3 separate regions of the Homo sapiens genome follow, and regions 1 and 3 are each linked to region 2. The links are contacts of gene promoters, found by promoter capture Hi-C in blood cells and fetal thymus (Javierre and others, 2016). All regions are on one chromosome and are shown on one strand. The core of a region is centred on a gene start or on the middle of the fragment in contact, and the rest is flanking DNA. Distances in the headings are between cores, read along the strand shown.

Region 1 (4,963 bases), core at 1,623-4,122, 260 kb after region 2:
AGCATGGCCCGGCAGCCCCGGACCTCCCAGGTGGAAGGAAGGACCCGGAGAACTGGAAACATCCTTGCATAGCAGCCCCCGAGTTGGAGGCAGCCACTCGGCACCTGGCACCTGGCCCAGGGGGGCCTCCTGCGGACTCACGTGGGCTCTGGGAGGTGGAGGAGGGTCACTTCCCCCAGGGGAGAGCGGAGAAGGCTGGCAGGACCCTGCTGTGGGTGTGACTGGGACCGTGCTGGGCCCTGCGTTGGCCAGCAGTGTCCCGAGCGGGCCTCCGCGCCGGCAGGCCCAGCTGGGCCTATTTCTGACTCGAATTTGTTGCGAAACGTCGGCAAATCCCCTGCCCTGGCTGGGCCTCAATTTCCCCATCTGCAGACAGGAGGCGGGCGAGAGGGCCCCCTGGACTTCAGGGCCCGTGGGTCTGACGGCCAGGGCTGCAGCTGAATCTCCGAGTTGGAGATGCCTGGTGGGGTGCAGCACACCCTGCGTGCACAGATGAGGGCCGGGCTGGCTCCAGGCGTGCGGGAGGCAGCAGTGGAGCTGGGATCGGAGTCTGGACTCCTCTGCTGGCCTCGAGTGACCCCGGGGGCCTTCTTGTCCCCCCTCCTTGCAGGAAGCACAGGCACCAGCTCCTGAAAGCAGAACAGCTCCCCTCTGCTGCCCCCTGGTGGCTGCAGTGACACATGGTGGCCCAGTCCAGAGCCAGGGCACCCCCAGGGTCACCGACACCCTCAAAGTCATGAGCTCCCCTGGGGCCATGGGTGTCGTAGGGCTGGGGCCACCCTCTCTGGGAGCCCTGGGTGAGAGTGTCACTTGTGATATTTCATTGAATCTTCACCCCTCCCACACACAAGAGAGGGATGATCATGTTTGCCGCTTCACAGCTGGGTTGTCAGTTTCAGGGGGCAGAGCCTGCAGGAAGCTGGGGCCGGAGAGGTTTGAAGTCAGATATTCCAGTGGAAAGTGCTCCCCTCCCCTCCAGTCAACAGCCACCTGGGGCTTCAGGCTCTAGGAGGGGAGGAGTGGGTGGGGAAGGTCGAGGCTTATTATTCTTCGGGGTGTGGGGGTGGTCACTAAAATGGGACCTGGTGGCCGGGCACAGTGGCTCACGCCTGTAATCCCAGCACTTTGGGAGGCCGAGGCGGGCGGATTACCTGAGGTCAGGAGTTCTTGACCAGCCTGGCCAACGTGGTGAAACCTTGTCTCTACTAAAAATACAAAACTTAGCTGGGCATGGTGGCACACACCTGTAATCCCAGCTACTCAGGAGGCTGAGGCAGGAGAATTGCTTGAGCCCAGGAGATGGAGGTTGCAGTGAGCTGAGATCATGCCACTGCACTCCAGCCTGGCCGACAGAGCTGGACTGTCTCAAAAAAAAAAAAAAAAAAAGAAAGAAAGAAAGACGGGACCTGGCTTCCTAACTGAGGGAAACTGAAGAGAAGGGCCCAGTTCACGGGAATAAGGTGCCAGTTTGGGATGCCCCTACAGGGCCCTAGGTGCAGGGGACAGGGCTGAGGGAGCGGGGGAGGCGCCAAGATGTCAAGGCCGGCAGCCGTTCTCCTGGGGCAGAGGGCCAGTGCCCATGCCCGCACCTTGGGTCCCCAGGGCAGCCAGGTGGAGCCATACCACCTCCTCGGGCTTCACCTGCAAGCCCAGGCCCTGTGCTCACTGAGCCCCCACGCCCGCCAGGCCACTTCCAGAGGCTGTGCACACCCTCTGCCCAGATCCAGGAGAGGGGCTTTCACACAAGGAGGGAGAGGCTCAGAACCCTGGCAACCTACCCAAGGCATGGCACATGGGGCTACACGGGTGGATTGGAAGCTGGGTTGGCCACCTGAACCCCTGGGGTCCTGGCATTTCCAATGTCACCATCAGAAGGGTGGATGGAGGCCGGGCGTGGTGGCTCATGCCTGTAATCCCAGCATTTTGGGAGGCCGAGGCAGGCGGATCACCTGAGGTCAGGAGTTCGAGGCCAGCCTGGCCAACATGGTGAAACCCCGTCTCTCCTAAAAACACAAAAATTAGCCAAGCATGGTGGCAGGTGCCTGTAGTCTCAGCTACTTGGGAGAATGAGGCAGAAGAATCGCTTGAACTCGGGAGGCGGAGGTTGCAGTGAGCTGAGATCACACCACTGCACTCCAACCTGTGCGACAGGGCAAGACTCTGTCTCAAAAAAAAAAAAAAAAAGAAAAAAGTAAAAGAAAAAAGAATGGAGGACGGAAGGGCCACACCATGCAGGTGCTGGGGTCCTGGCGTTTCATTTTCAATGTCACCATCAGAATGGAGGATGGGAGGCCGCCCCGCGAATGGAGGGCGGGAGAGCCATGCCATGCAGGTGCTGCCTGCTTGGGTTCCTGTGCTGGGACTGCCTCTCTCATCTATCACCTTGCACCTCCATCGCTGTGACACCCTTCACCCGCCGGGCCCCCACAAAACATGCTTGGGCTCTGCAGCCAGACTCCATCCTCCCCCACCAACCGTCCGACTCCTAGAGCCCTCTCCTGGACCCCCAGCACAGCGCGTGCGTGACGGAACCCTGCAGAGCCACTTCCTGTTAGAATCAGAAGGGCTGTCAGCCACTAAACCCAAGTGCCAACTTTTGGTGACGGAGAAATAGATCCAGATAGAGGGAGGACTTGATCAGGCCCAGGGTGGCCAGAGACCCTTTGGACTGCGACCAGAATCCCAGGGGCCTGTCACCGGCCCAGCGTCTGAGGTCCTGAATCCCTGGAAATCAATAAAGGCAGGCAGGTGGGAGGCTGGAGGCCTCGCAGCCCACCCAACCCACATCCACCACACTCTCACACCAAGCCCTCAGCGTGCTCGGAGCATGGCGGTGGGCTTTACCCCTCCAGCCCCTCTACCTGGGATGCCACACAACTCTTCAGGGCCAGGGGAGTCCCCTCCTAGGGCCACCGTCCCCAAGGCACCCAGGGATGAGTCACTCTCTCTCACCCCAGGCCACCCAGGAGAGTTGACATCAGTCACATGTCTGCCCCTCAGACTGGGAGAACCCTGGAGCAGGGACCCCATCCCCTGCCTCTGTGAATCCCTAGCATTGGCCCATGGTGTGAACACCAGCAGCCACAGCACTGAGACCTAGCCAGGGCTTCCCAGTTTCCTGGGCACCAGCTGTTCTTCGCAGCCTCTTCCATGCTTGCTGGGAAGCAAGGTCTATCATGACCCTAGGCGCAGAAGGACAAGAAACAGAGAGGTTGAGTAAGATGCCCGACGACACACAGCTGGAGTCAGCAGAGGCTGGAAGGGTGCTGGGCGGCCTGGCTCCCAGCACGAGGCATCCTACCTGAGGACAGTAGACGGGCAGCTAAAGGACCCTCAGCTGACCACACAGGCCGGGCCTGGGCATGTCTGCGGCATGACCCCCTTGGGCCTTGTCACCTCCTCTCATCCCCTAGATCGCAGGACAGCAAGGTGGTCACACCCAGATTGCCTGAGTGTGCATTCTTTCCTTCCACGTCGGAGCACTTGGTCGGAATCCTGCCCACACAGGATGCACCTCACGAGGTGTTCACTCACCAGTCTCCCAGAGCAGAGGGGTCTGGGGAGAGGGGACACAAGATGGCATTGGGAGTGACAGCAAGACTGACTGTCTTGCGGGGCCCTCAGGCGCTGGCCTCCAAGGCCAGGTCCCCCAGGAAAAGCCTAGACAGAGGGGAGCAGGAAACCCGGTCCCAGCCCAGGGCGCCCACTCCCTGCCGGCCAGGCCAAGCCTCCCGCGTCCGGCCTCCTGGGTGCTGCTCACTCATCCATCAGACCAGTGTGATGGGGTCATTCGCTCCCATTCCCAGGCGGGGGAGGCTCCAGGAGATGTGGGTGGATGTGGGTTTACCCTGTGGATGGCCTGAGGCCTGAGGACTAGGAAGGTCCATCTATCTGTCCCTTGGCAGATGGCCACAGTGCCCAGGGCGACAACAGGGTGAGCTCTGCTCACATGGGTCCTGATGCAGATAGGGGGTGTCTGGGCCCCTGTCACCCCTGTGGAGTCTTCCTCGCCTTCCTCTGGGCGGGTCTTCTCAGGTCCAGCTCAAGGGCATCTGGGAGGGGAGGTGGCCTGAAAGCTCGGAGGCCCTGCAAAGCTGGCTGCAGTTAGGAAAGCCACTAAGTCATTATTTTGGGGTTAAATCAGAACTAATCTACCCAAGCCAATGGCTGGGTCCCCTGAAGGGAGGACACTCATGACTCAGCTGCTTGAGCCTGGGGAAGTGGTGTCCCTGAGATCCAGGAATGTGAGGGAGGATGACACCATCCACCAGGCCTGGCCCAGCGGGAGCAGCTAGTGTGGCTGCCTCTCGCTGTGCCCACCCCACCCTCAGCATCTGGCTTTGTCCACCTCTGGCCAAGGCCCACTCTGTTTGGGCTGCACTGTTGCCCGGAAGCCCTCCATGCCCCAGCGAGAGTCTCCCTCCCTGGCCTCTGTCCCTCCATTTCTCCATCAGTGGCCACCAGGGCAGTTTTCTTTTTCTTTTCTTTTTTTTTTTTTTGAGACGGAGTCTCACTCGCCCAGGCCGAAGTGCGGTGGCACGATCTCGGCTCACTGCAACCTCCGCCTGCCGGGTTCAAGCAATTCTCCTGCCTCAGCCTCCTGAGTAGCTGAGACTACAAGCACGCGCCACCATGCCCGGCTAATTATTTGTACTTTTAGTAGAGATGGGGTTTCACCATGCTGGTCAGGCTGGTCTCGAACTCCTGACCTCGTGATCTGCCTGCTTCAGCCTCCCAAAGTGCTGGGATTACAGGCGTGAGCCACCGCAACCAGCCCACCAGGGCAGTTTTCTTAAAAGGGGACCCTGCCTGGTTATGGTAATGGCTCTCCTGCTGGCCCTGGGGGCGGTTCAAGCCTTCAGGGCAACTCTCAAGGCTTCCAAAGCACACCCCCACCCCTCGTTCCTCCCCCCACTGCTCCTTCCCCTTTGACGCCCCCTGCTCTGCTAGGCTGGGGATGTAG
Region 2 (4,608 bases), core at 497-2,996:
TGTCTTTACCCAATGTCTGTACCCCACTGTATCTAGGAAATAACTAACTTGCTTTTGATTTTTTTTCTGTTTTTTGAGACAGAGTTTCGTTCCTGTTGCCCAGGCTGGAGTGCAATGACACGATCTTGGCTCACCGCAACCTCTGCTTCCCGGGTTCAAGCGATTCTCCTGCCTCAGCCTCCCGAGTAGCTGGGATTACAGGCATGCACCACCACACCCGGCTAATTTTGTATTTTTAGTAGAGATGGGGTTTCTCCATGTTGGTCAGGCTGGTCTCAAACTCCCAAGCTCAGGTGATCTGCCCGCTTCAGCCTCCCGAAGTGCTGGGATTACAGGGTGAGCCACTGCGCCCAGCCAGTTGCTTTTGATTTTACAGGCTCATAAGCATAAGCGACTTCCTTTGTCTCAGACAGGACTTTGGACTGTGGACTTTTGAGTTAATGTGAAATGAGTTAAGACTTTGGAGGACTGTTGGGAAGGCATGATTGGTTTTGAAATGTGAGGAGATGAGATTTGGCAGGGGTGGAATGATATAGTTTGGCTCTGTGTCCCCACCCAAATCTCATCTTATAGTCCCATAATTCCCACATGTTGTGGGAGGGACCGGGTGGGAGATAACTGAATCACAGGGGCAGTTTCCCCCATATTGTTCTGTGGTAGTGAATAAGTCTCAGGAGATCTGATGCTTTTATCAGGGGTTTCCGCTTTTGCGTCTTCCTCATTTTCTCTTGCCACTGCCATGCAAGAAGTGCTTTTTGCCTCCTGCCATGATTCTGAGGCCTCCCCAGCCATATGGAACTGTAAGTCCAATTAAACCTCTTTTTCTTCCCAGTCTTGGTTATGTCTTTATCAGCAGCATGAAAACGGACTAATACAGGGGAGGGCCAATTAAGACCACGAGTTTGAGACCAGCCTGTGAAACACAGCAAGACACCATCTCTACAAAAATAAAAAATAAATCAGTCAGGTGTAGTGGTGTAGACCTGTAGTATGGGAGGCTGAGGCAGGAGGATTCCTTGAGCCCAGGAGTTCAAGGTTACAGTCAGCTATGATTGCACCATTGCACTCCAGCCTGGGCAACAGAGCAAGACCCTGTCTCTAAAATCATTCAATCCATCAATCAAGTCCCAAAATATACAGCAAAAATGGACAGAGTTAAAGAATGAGGCCAGGCACAGTGGCTCATGCCTGTAATCCCAGCACTTTGGGAGGCCGAGGTGGGTGGATCACTTGAGGTCAAGCCATTGCACTCCAGCCTGGGTGACAGAGACTCCGTCTCAAAAAACAAACAAACAAACAAACAAACAAAAAACAAAACCCCCAAACCAACTAGAAAGAAAAGAGCAAAGCGACCCCAAAGTAAGAAACCGAGAGTCAGACCTTCCTGGGCGCCCAGGGATCTCACGGTTCCCTCCTGATCTCCCATTTTGTGACTGGCTTTCCCAAGGGTTCCTGCTGAAGCCCCTTCTCCGTGGTCAGCTCTGTGGTCTGCACGGGGCTGAACTGCCCTCCTGAGCCATCCTGACCCTGGGCCTGCACACACTTGGGGACGGAGAGGGAAGAGGTACCCAAGAAGTCCCCAGTGCCGACTGACCCCAAGCTCCGAGGTCCCAGCTGCTCTCTGGGACTCTGTCCCTGGGACCCCTCTGCCAGCGCCCTTCGACGCCCGAGACCCCCACTGTCCCCAAGACCCTCACTATCCCCGCGACCCCGGTGGCGGTTGGGCGCGCCTCGCGGCCTCTCCCAGCTTCTCCTGGGCCGGCGCCATGAGGCCTGGGCCCGCTCTCCTCCTTCTGGGCGTGGGCCTGAGCCTGAGCGTCGGCCGCCTCCCGCTGCCGCCGGTTCCTCGCGGGGCACAAGCCGCCGTCTCCGGGGCGCCCGGTGGCCTCCTCAGGGGCGCCCCGGGCCTCGGGGTGCGCGGCGGCCGCGCCCTCCTCAGTCTGCGGCCCAGCGCGGTGCGGGCGGGCGGCGCTGTCCTGAGCGGCCGCGGCAGCCTCTGCTTCCCCCATGGCGGGACCGGGCGGCGCTGGTACTGCCTCGACTTGCGCGTCCTGCTCAGCGCCCAACGCCTGCCCTGGCCGGCCGCGCCCGCGCTCGCGCTCGTCGACCTGCAGCTCTCCGCGCGCGGCGGCCGCCTCTCCCTGACGTGGTCCGTGCGGCTGCCGCGCTCGCCCGGGCGCCTGGCCTGGGCCTTCCGCCTGCGGCTGCTCGGACCCGGCGCCGCCCGCCCGGCCTCCCCCGCGGCCCGCGTCTCCCCGCGCTCCGCCGCGCCAGGCCCGCGGCCCCAGCAGGGCTTCGTGGCCCGCACCGAGTGCCCCACAGACGGCCCCGCGCGCGTGATGTTGCAGGCCGTCAACTCGTCCAGCCACAGAGCCGTCGAGTCGTCCGTGTCCTGTCAGATAAACGCCTGCGTCATCCAGCGCGTGAGGATCAACACGGACCAGAAGGGCGCCCCCGTGCGCCTGAGCATGCAGGCGGAGGCCACCATCAACGCCTCGGTGCAGCTGGACTGCCCGGCCGCGCGCGCCATCGCCCAGTACTGGCAGGTGTTCTCCGTGCCCGCCGTGGGTCAGGCGCCCGACTGGACGCAGCCCTTGGATCTGCCCCAGCTCGAGATCAGGAACAGCCCCTTGTTCATTCACATCCCCAATAATTCGTTACAGTGGGGAGTGTATGTGTTTAATTTCACGGTGTCCATCACCACAGGGAACCCCAAGATGCCCGAGGTGAAAGACTCGGACGCCGTCTATGTCTGGATCGTCAGGAGTTCCCTGCAGGCGGTGATGCTTGGCGATGCCAACATAACAGCTAATTTCACAGAGCAGCTGATTCTGGACGGGTCCACGTCCTCGGACCCAGATGCGGACAGCCCGTTACAGGGACTCCAGTTCTTTTGGTACTGTACCACAGATCCCAGAAACTACGGTGGGGATCGAATAATCCTGGGGAGCAAGGAAGTCTGTCACCCCGAGCAGGCCAATCTGAAATGGCCCTGGGCCTCGGGCCCTGTACTGACACTTTTGCCAGAAACACTTAAAGGCGACCACGTGTATTTCTTCAGAATGGTGATTCGGAAGGACTCTAGGACAGCGTTTTCTGATAAGAGGGTCCACGTGCTCCAAGGACCAAAAGCCATAGCACACATCACATGTATCGAAAATTGTGAGAGAAACTTCATTGTCTCTGATAGATTTTCTTTGTTCCTAAATTGCACAAATTGTGCAAGCCGTGATTTCTATAAATGGTCAATTTTGTCTTCTTCAGGTGGTGAGATGCTATTTGATTGGATGGGGGAAACTGTAACAGGAAGGAATGGTGCTTATCTGTCTATAAAAGCTTTTGCTTTTCGGCATTTTTTGGAAGCTGAGTTTTCGATTTCTCTGTATCTAGCATGTTGGAGTGGAGTGACCTCGGTCTTCAGGCATTCTTTTATTATTAACCATGGCCCTCAGATCGGAGAATGCAAAATTAATCCAGCTAAAGGAATTGCACTTATTACTAAATTTGTTGTCCAGTGTAGTAATTTTAGGGATAAGCACGTCCCTCTTACATATAAAATAATTGTTTCTGATTTGCACAGTGTTGGTGAAATCAGTTCAGTAAAAGAGAACACCCTGGGGACCATCCTGTACTTGGGGCCTCAGTCCACAGTACCCCCTTCCTTTCTCCCTGTTGGTATGTTGGCTAGTCAATATGGCTTGAAGATATATGCCCAGGTCTATGATTCTCTAGGAGCTTTTTCTCAGGTGACTTTGCATGCCACCGCACAGGCTCCCACTGACAAAAATTCATCAAAGACAGTGTTGAATCAGTTACTCAGTTTCACCGTGGGACCAAGTTCATTGCTGTCTACTTTGATTCAAAAGAAGGATTTTTTACCTGCAGGTTACTTACTGTATATAGTAGCTTCCGTTTTGAATAACATGAAAACTGAATTACCTCTCCGAGATGACAGAGTCAATCTCCGAAAACACCTCATCGATCAGTCTTTCCTTCTTCCTGTAAGCACTTTGGTAGAAATTGGCCAGGTAGTCATGACTATTACCAAATTAACCCAGAAACCCTCTGAATTCACTTGGGATGCTCAGAAACGTGCCACCATGAGGGTATGGCAAGCAAATCAAGCCCTACAAGAGTATCAGCAAAAAGATAAACGCTTTCGATCTGAACAAATAGAAATCGTGAGTACTGGAATACTAATGAGTTTGTCTAATATTCTTAAAATGACTTCTCCTCACCAAGTAGTTAAAGATCCTTTCTATGTAATAGAATCTCTATCAGACACAATACTGGCTAATAAAGTGCCAGGGAACAAAACCACCTCAATGAGAACCCCCAATTTCAACATGTATGTCAAGAAAGTTGAAAAGTGGGGTATCAACCAGCTCTTCAGAAATGAGAAACACTGCAGAAATTGTTTTTATCCAACACTCAATGTGAGCAGTGTTCCTGGTCTGTCTGCAAATGGTCCCATTTCTACAATGTTTTGTGATTTCACAAATGACCTCTTTCCTTGGTTAAATGATCAGGAAAACACTTCGGTGGAGGTGTCTGGATTCAGAATGACAGGAGTTGCAGATAACGGTAGTGTGCTAGAGATCACACCTG
Region 3 (4,377 bases), core at 1,628-4,127, 280 kb after region 2:
TGGTCTCAGGCAGCCAGGAAATAGGGTACATGGGCAGGACCCACTGTCTCAGAGGTTAGGCCCTGTCCCTGGCCTTGGCCTGGACTTTCTTACTGCCTGCTTCCATGGGGTGTCTCACCTATGCCCTCCACCTAGCGCCTCCCTAGGGACCCTGGCTGCCCACCTGAAGGGGGTGACGGCTGGGCTGCCTCCCTGACGTGCCATCTGCTCCCTCCTTTGGGCACAGCAACTCTGAAGAGCAATCAGCCCCAGCCCAGGTGGGATCACTGCAAATGTGGCCTTCAAACTCCAGTAATCCTGGCAATGCCCTGGTCTCCGCAGTTAGTGTGACTCGCTGGTTGAGCTGAACACTTAGCGTGTGCCAGGCCCTCACTTAGGGCTTCATGCGCCCACAGATCAAGGTGCTGGGTGTCCTTTCACAGATGGGGAAGCTGAGGCTCGGGGTCACAGAGCCTGGTGGTCCACTGTCCCCGTCTCCAGACTCTGCCCCCAACACCCACTTTCTGTTCACTGTGGACCCAGGATCAGCTGTGACAGCTCCCGAGGAGGCCCCCCAGCACCCTGCTGGGTAGATGGTGTTACCTCCTTAAACCTCCCGGTGATGTGGACATTCACACCTTTGGTTGAGGTGTCCTGGAGAGGAATGATTTGCCCGAATCCCACGGCGTGTACACGGAAGGCCCGGGTTCGAATTGGACTCAGTCTGAGCTGTTGCCCGAAGTCTTCCGCAGCTGTATAGCCTTACAGCTATGAAGGCATTTTCTGGGCCTGGGTTGGAGCCCACCCTCACGCCCTGGCCACTGCCTCCTGATGGCCTGTGTGCATTCTCAGGCTGAAATGGGGACCCCTGTGGAGAGGGGCTAAGGAGTCCAGGTCTGTGTGCCAACCTCCCTAGGCGGCCCCTGCAGGGAAGGAAGATTGTATGGTCCAGCCAGGGACCCCAGGCCGTGGGTCTGATGCCAGATCTGCCAGCTGTAGTCACCCAGTAGGAGATGGCGAAACAGCCCTGGGGAACCCCACTGTCAGCACCAGAGTTCCTGGCTCCTGGGGCTAGCATGCTGGGGCTCAAACCCCTGCTTGATGACTGTGTGACCCTGGCAGCCTCCCTGGGTCTCGGCCTTCCCACCCTTAAAGCAAGAGGTTCAGACCAGATCAGTGGTTCTTGGTCGTTCATGGGTCCTGTGTGGTGTGGGGGAAGCAGGCCAGTTTCCAGGCGTCGATGCCATCAGTGGTCAGCCCTGGGGCTGTGACTCTTGGTGCCCAAGACTAAAACAGACACCCCATGACTTTCAGGAGATCACCCTGACAGGTAGGATCGTGGCTGCAGGTTTGCTTAAAACGAAATTGTTTATTTGGGCTGTTCTGATTCCTGCAAGCAGGAGCTCAGATGTGCCTGTGGCTCAGCTTAAGCCTGGCCACCCGGTCCCTGTCCTGGGGGTGTCCACGAAACAGGATGAATAGAATCTGGGTCCTCCACACCAAAAAGTCCAACGCTCATATCTTAGACCAGTGGTTCTCAACTGGAGCCAATTCTGCTCCCCGGGAGACATTTGGCAATGTCTGGGGATACGTTTTGTTGTCATACCTCAGGGGATGCTGTGTGCTAAAAGCGTCTAGTGGGCAGAGGCCAGAGACGCTGCTGAACATCCTACCGGGCACAGACGGTCCCCACCACAGGGAACGATCCTGCCCTGAATGCCCATGGTGCAGCCACAAGAAGCCCCAGCGGAGACAGGCAGCTGAGTGCTCGGTGTCGGGCCCTTGCCTAGAAGGATGAGGTCCAAATGGTGGCCTGGCTTTCGGTGGCCTTTGTGGCCTAACCCAGCCTCAGCCCTGGGTGCTGGGCACTCTGGCATCATGTGCTAGGTTAGTCCCACTGGGTCGTGGCACTTTTAGAGGGTGGGCTTTATGCAGGGAACTCTGGAAGGCTCAGATTCAGCCTTGGGCATCCATCTTCTCCCCATGGGGGACTCAAGCAGGAAATCAAAGGACTCTTCATTCTGTGGTGGGAGGCACTGGAAAGGGCCTTCCCTCCTCCTCCCTCAAAGCTCAAACCTGGATCTTCCACCAGCAGTCATCAGTGCAGGGTGGAGGTCAAAGTGACCCTCATGGAAGGAGGAGGTAAAGGACTGCCCAGGGCACATTGCTTTTGCCCACCAGCAAACCCAGCTTAGCCAGGGTCCTGGAGCTGCCCCATCAGGGCGGTGCTGGTCGGTTGCCACAGGCGAGGAGTGATTGTATGTTGGGGTCAGGGAGGGCCAGGAGCATCCCTCTCCAGACTCAGGTCCTTGGCTCTCCTACCGAGGAAGGGGTTCATGGACAAGCGCAGACCAGGCCTCACCTGGACTCCAGATCCTCATCTGCAGAGATGGGGGCTCGCCCCTGCCTCAGCCTCACTCAGCACACCTGGCCCTCATCACCTCCTCTCTCGGCTGACTGCCAGGCTCAGGCAGCCTGGAGTTTTGGTCAAGGTGCAGCTGGATGTGCTGGGCAGCCTGACCTCAGCTCTCCTGGTCCTGGAGAGGACTTTTGTTAGAGACACAGAGCATTTGTTTTAACATAGAAGATGTGATGTGAGTTTGTCTATGAGGCAGTCCCGAGCCTCCCTGTCAAATGCCTCACCTCCTGGGTTCATGACCCTCACAGAGGTCAGAAGTCACAGGGAGCCTACACATTTCATTCCCAGTGAACCCATGCTAGCTCCTGGTGTTACAGGATCTTTTGGGTGTCGTCTTTTTAGCTGGAAACCTCTGTGACCAGTGGCGTCTTTGCCTGAGTTTTTGTCCTGCATCCAGGAAGAATGAGGTATGCAGACAAGTAGAGGGTAAGCAAGACAAAGAGGAGCTTTATTGAGTATTAGAACAGCTCAGAGGAGACCTGCAGTGGGTAGCTCCTCTTTCTAGGCAGGTTGTCCCATCGAGTGTTCAGCTCTCCGCAGAGAGGAAGCCCCAGAGAGGGTAGTGCCTCTCTGCAGGCAGGTTATTCTGACATCTCCTCAGGTCTCTGAAGCTCTCAGCAGAGAGGGTAGCTCCTCTCAGCAGCTGATCAACTTGTAATCTGCTCAGCTCTGGCTGAGCCCAGGGTTTTTATGGGCCTCAGAGGGGAGAAAGTGCATGCAGATTGGTCCATGGGTAGCCATGGGCAGGCCCAGAAAAGGCACCACAAATTCCCATTCAGGTTGGTGGGACTGGAAGCCCAGCCTCCAGCCTTCAGGCCCTCCCTGGCCCTAAAGGTGGAGCCTCACGGGGGACCCGTCCCCTTCCTCCCAGGAATGTGCCTGCCTCCTGCTGCCATTCATGGCACCAGGGCTTGGCCCTGACTTTGCTTTGAGATCAAAGCAGGCACTGACGGCAGGGAAAAGCCAGGCAGTGGGAACAGGCACTTCCAAGCCTGCAAGGGCAGTGGGGGCCTTCCCAGGTCCCTGAGTGCAGAAATTCCTGAGTCTGCAGCTACAGTTTTGGTGGCTGCAGCTGTGCCTGGGAGGGTAGGGCTCTTGCCTGCTCCTGTCCCAAGAGCACAGGGATGCTCAGATCTGCAGCCACAATTTGGGCGGCTGCAGCCCCACCTAGGAGGGTGGGGCTCCGGCCTGCTCCATGGAGTATGCGGCCCTGGCCATGCCTCCCTGCTGCAGTCTGTGTGATGGCAGTGGGAGGCCATCTTGGAGCAGCCACTGCCGTCACTGGTGCTCACCCCCTCCTTCTGCTCCCTGGGCTCTTGGATATCCCTTAGCTTCTGCCCTGAATTGGGTCAAGCTCCTGGATTTGCCTTTGGGGGCTCCTCATTCTCCCTCCAGAAATGCCAGAGCTCTGTCTGCCCTTCTCTGGATGAGGGGTCCTGGTGGGCACACACAGGCTCCTGCTGGAAATCATCTGACGCCCGCAGCCTCCTCCCCAGGTGGCCCCTGCTCCCCATCCCCAGTGGGGACTCTGTCCCTCCTGGGAGGGACTGCTTCTCCCCTAGGAGCCCTCCACCTCCCTTGGCAAGGGCTGGGAACCCCCTAGGGGCTCAGGGTGTACACTGAGAGGACTTGGGGTGTGGACCTTCCCACGGAACTTTCTGCAGTTTACACGTTTGCCAGAACTATCATTTGCCAATTGTGCTTGATCTCTGGAGCCACCTGGGTGTTGATTAAACATTCAGATTCCTAGCCCCTTCCCTGAGATATTTCGGAGAAGTGGGCCTGTGGTAATGCTAAAAATTGGCTGGTCAGGCAAGCTGGGGACACTCCATCCAGGGCCCACCTCTGGTGCCCCCCTCTCTCAAAATCTTCAGTAGCTCCCCAGTGACCATAAGTAACGTCCTGCTCCTTAGCCTGGCACTCCGGCTGTCTGTGCGTGTGCCCTTGCCTCCCCCTTTCCTCTGCTCCATAACCTGCTG

The links. The method cuts DNA at HindIII sites, captures the fragments that hold promoters and counts their contacts. A CHiCAGO score of 5 or more calls a contact.
Region 1: a contact is called between a fragment that was not itself captured here and the fragment with the promoter of PKDREJ in region 2, in 5 of 17 cell types (neutrophils, megakaryocytes, M0 macrophages and 2 more). The highest score is 10.6, in neutrophils.
Region 3: a contact is called between a fragment that was not itself captured here and the fragment with the promoter of PKDREJ in region 2, in 1 of 17 cell types (neutrophils). The highest score is 5.1, in neutrophils.

Annotation. Positions count from the first base shown.
Region 1 is chr22:46,002,215-46,007,177 of GRCh38, reverse strand. It overlaps the pseudogene LOC730668. Among named protein-coding and RNA genes, the nearest start is that of WNT7B, 28 kb to the right of the region's middle. RefSeq lists an enhancer at 1-901. The HindIII fragment of the contact is 8,534 bases long and covers 1-4,963 here.
Region 2 is chr22:46,260,481-46,265,088 of GRCh38, reverse strand. PKDREJ (polycystin family receptor for egg jelly) reads left to right here and starts at 1,746. Exons shown (of 1, transcript NM_006071.2): 1 at 1,746-4,608. The coding sequence starts at 1,767. The HindIII fragment of the contact is 7,014 bases long and covers 1-3,338 here.
Region 3 is chr22:45,986,546-45,990,922 of GRCh38, reverse strand. No RefSeq gene overlaps it. Among named protein-coding and RNA genes, the nearest start is that of WNT7B, 12 kb to the right of the region's middle. RefSeq lists enhancers at 3,062-3,562, 3,563-4,063. The HindIII fragment of the contact is 8,373 bases long and covers 1-4,377 here.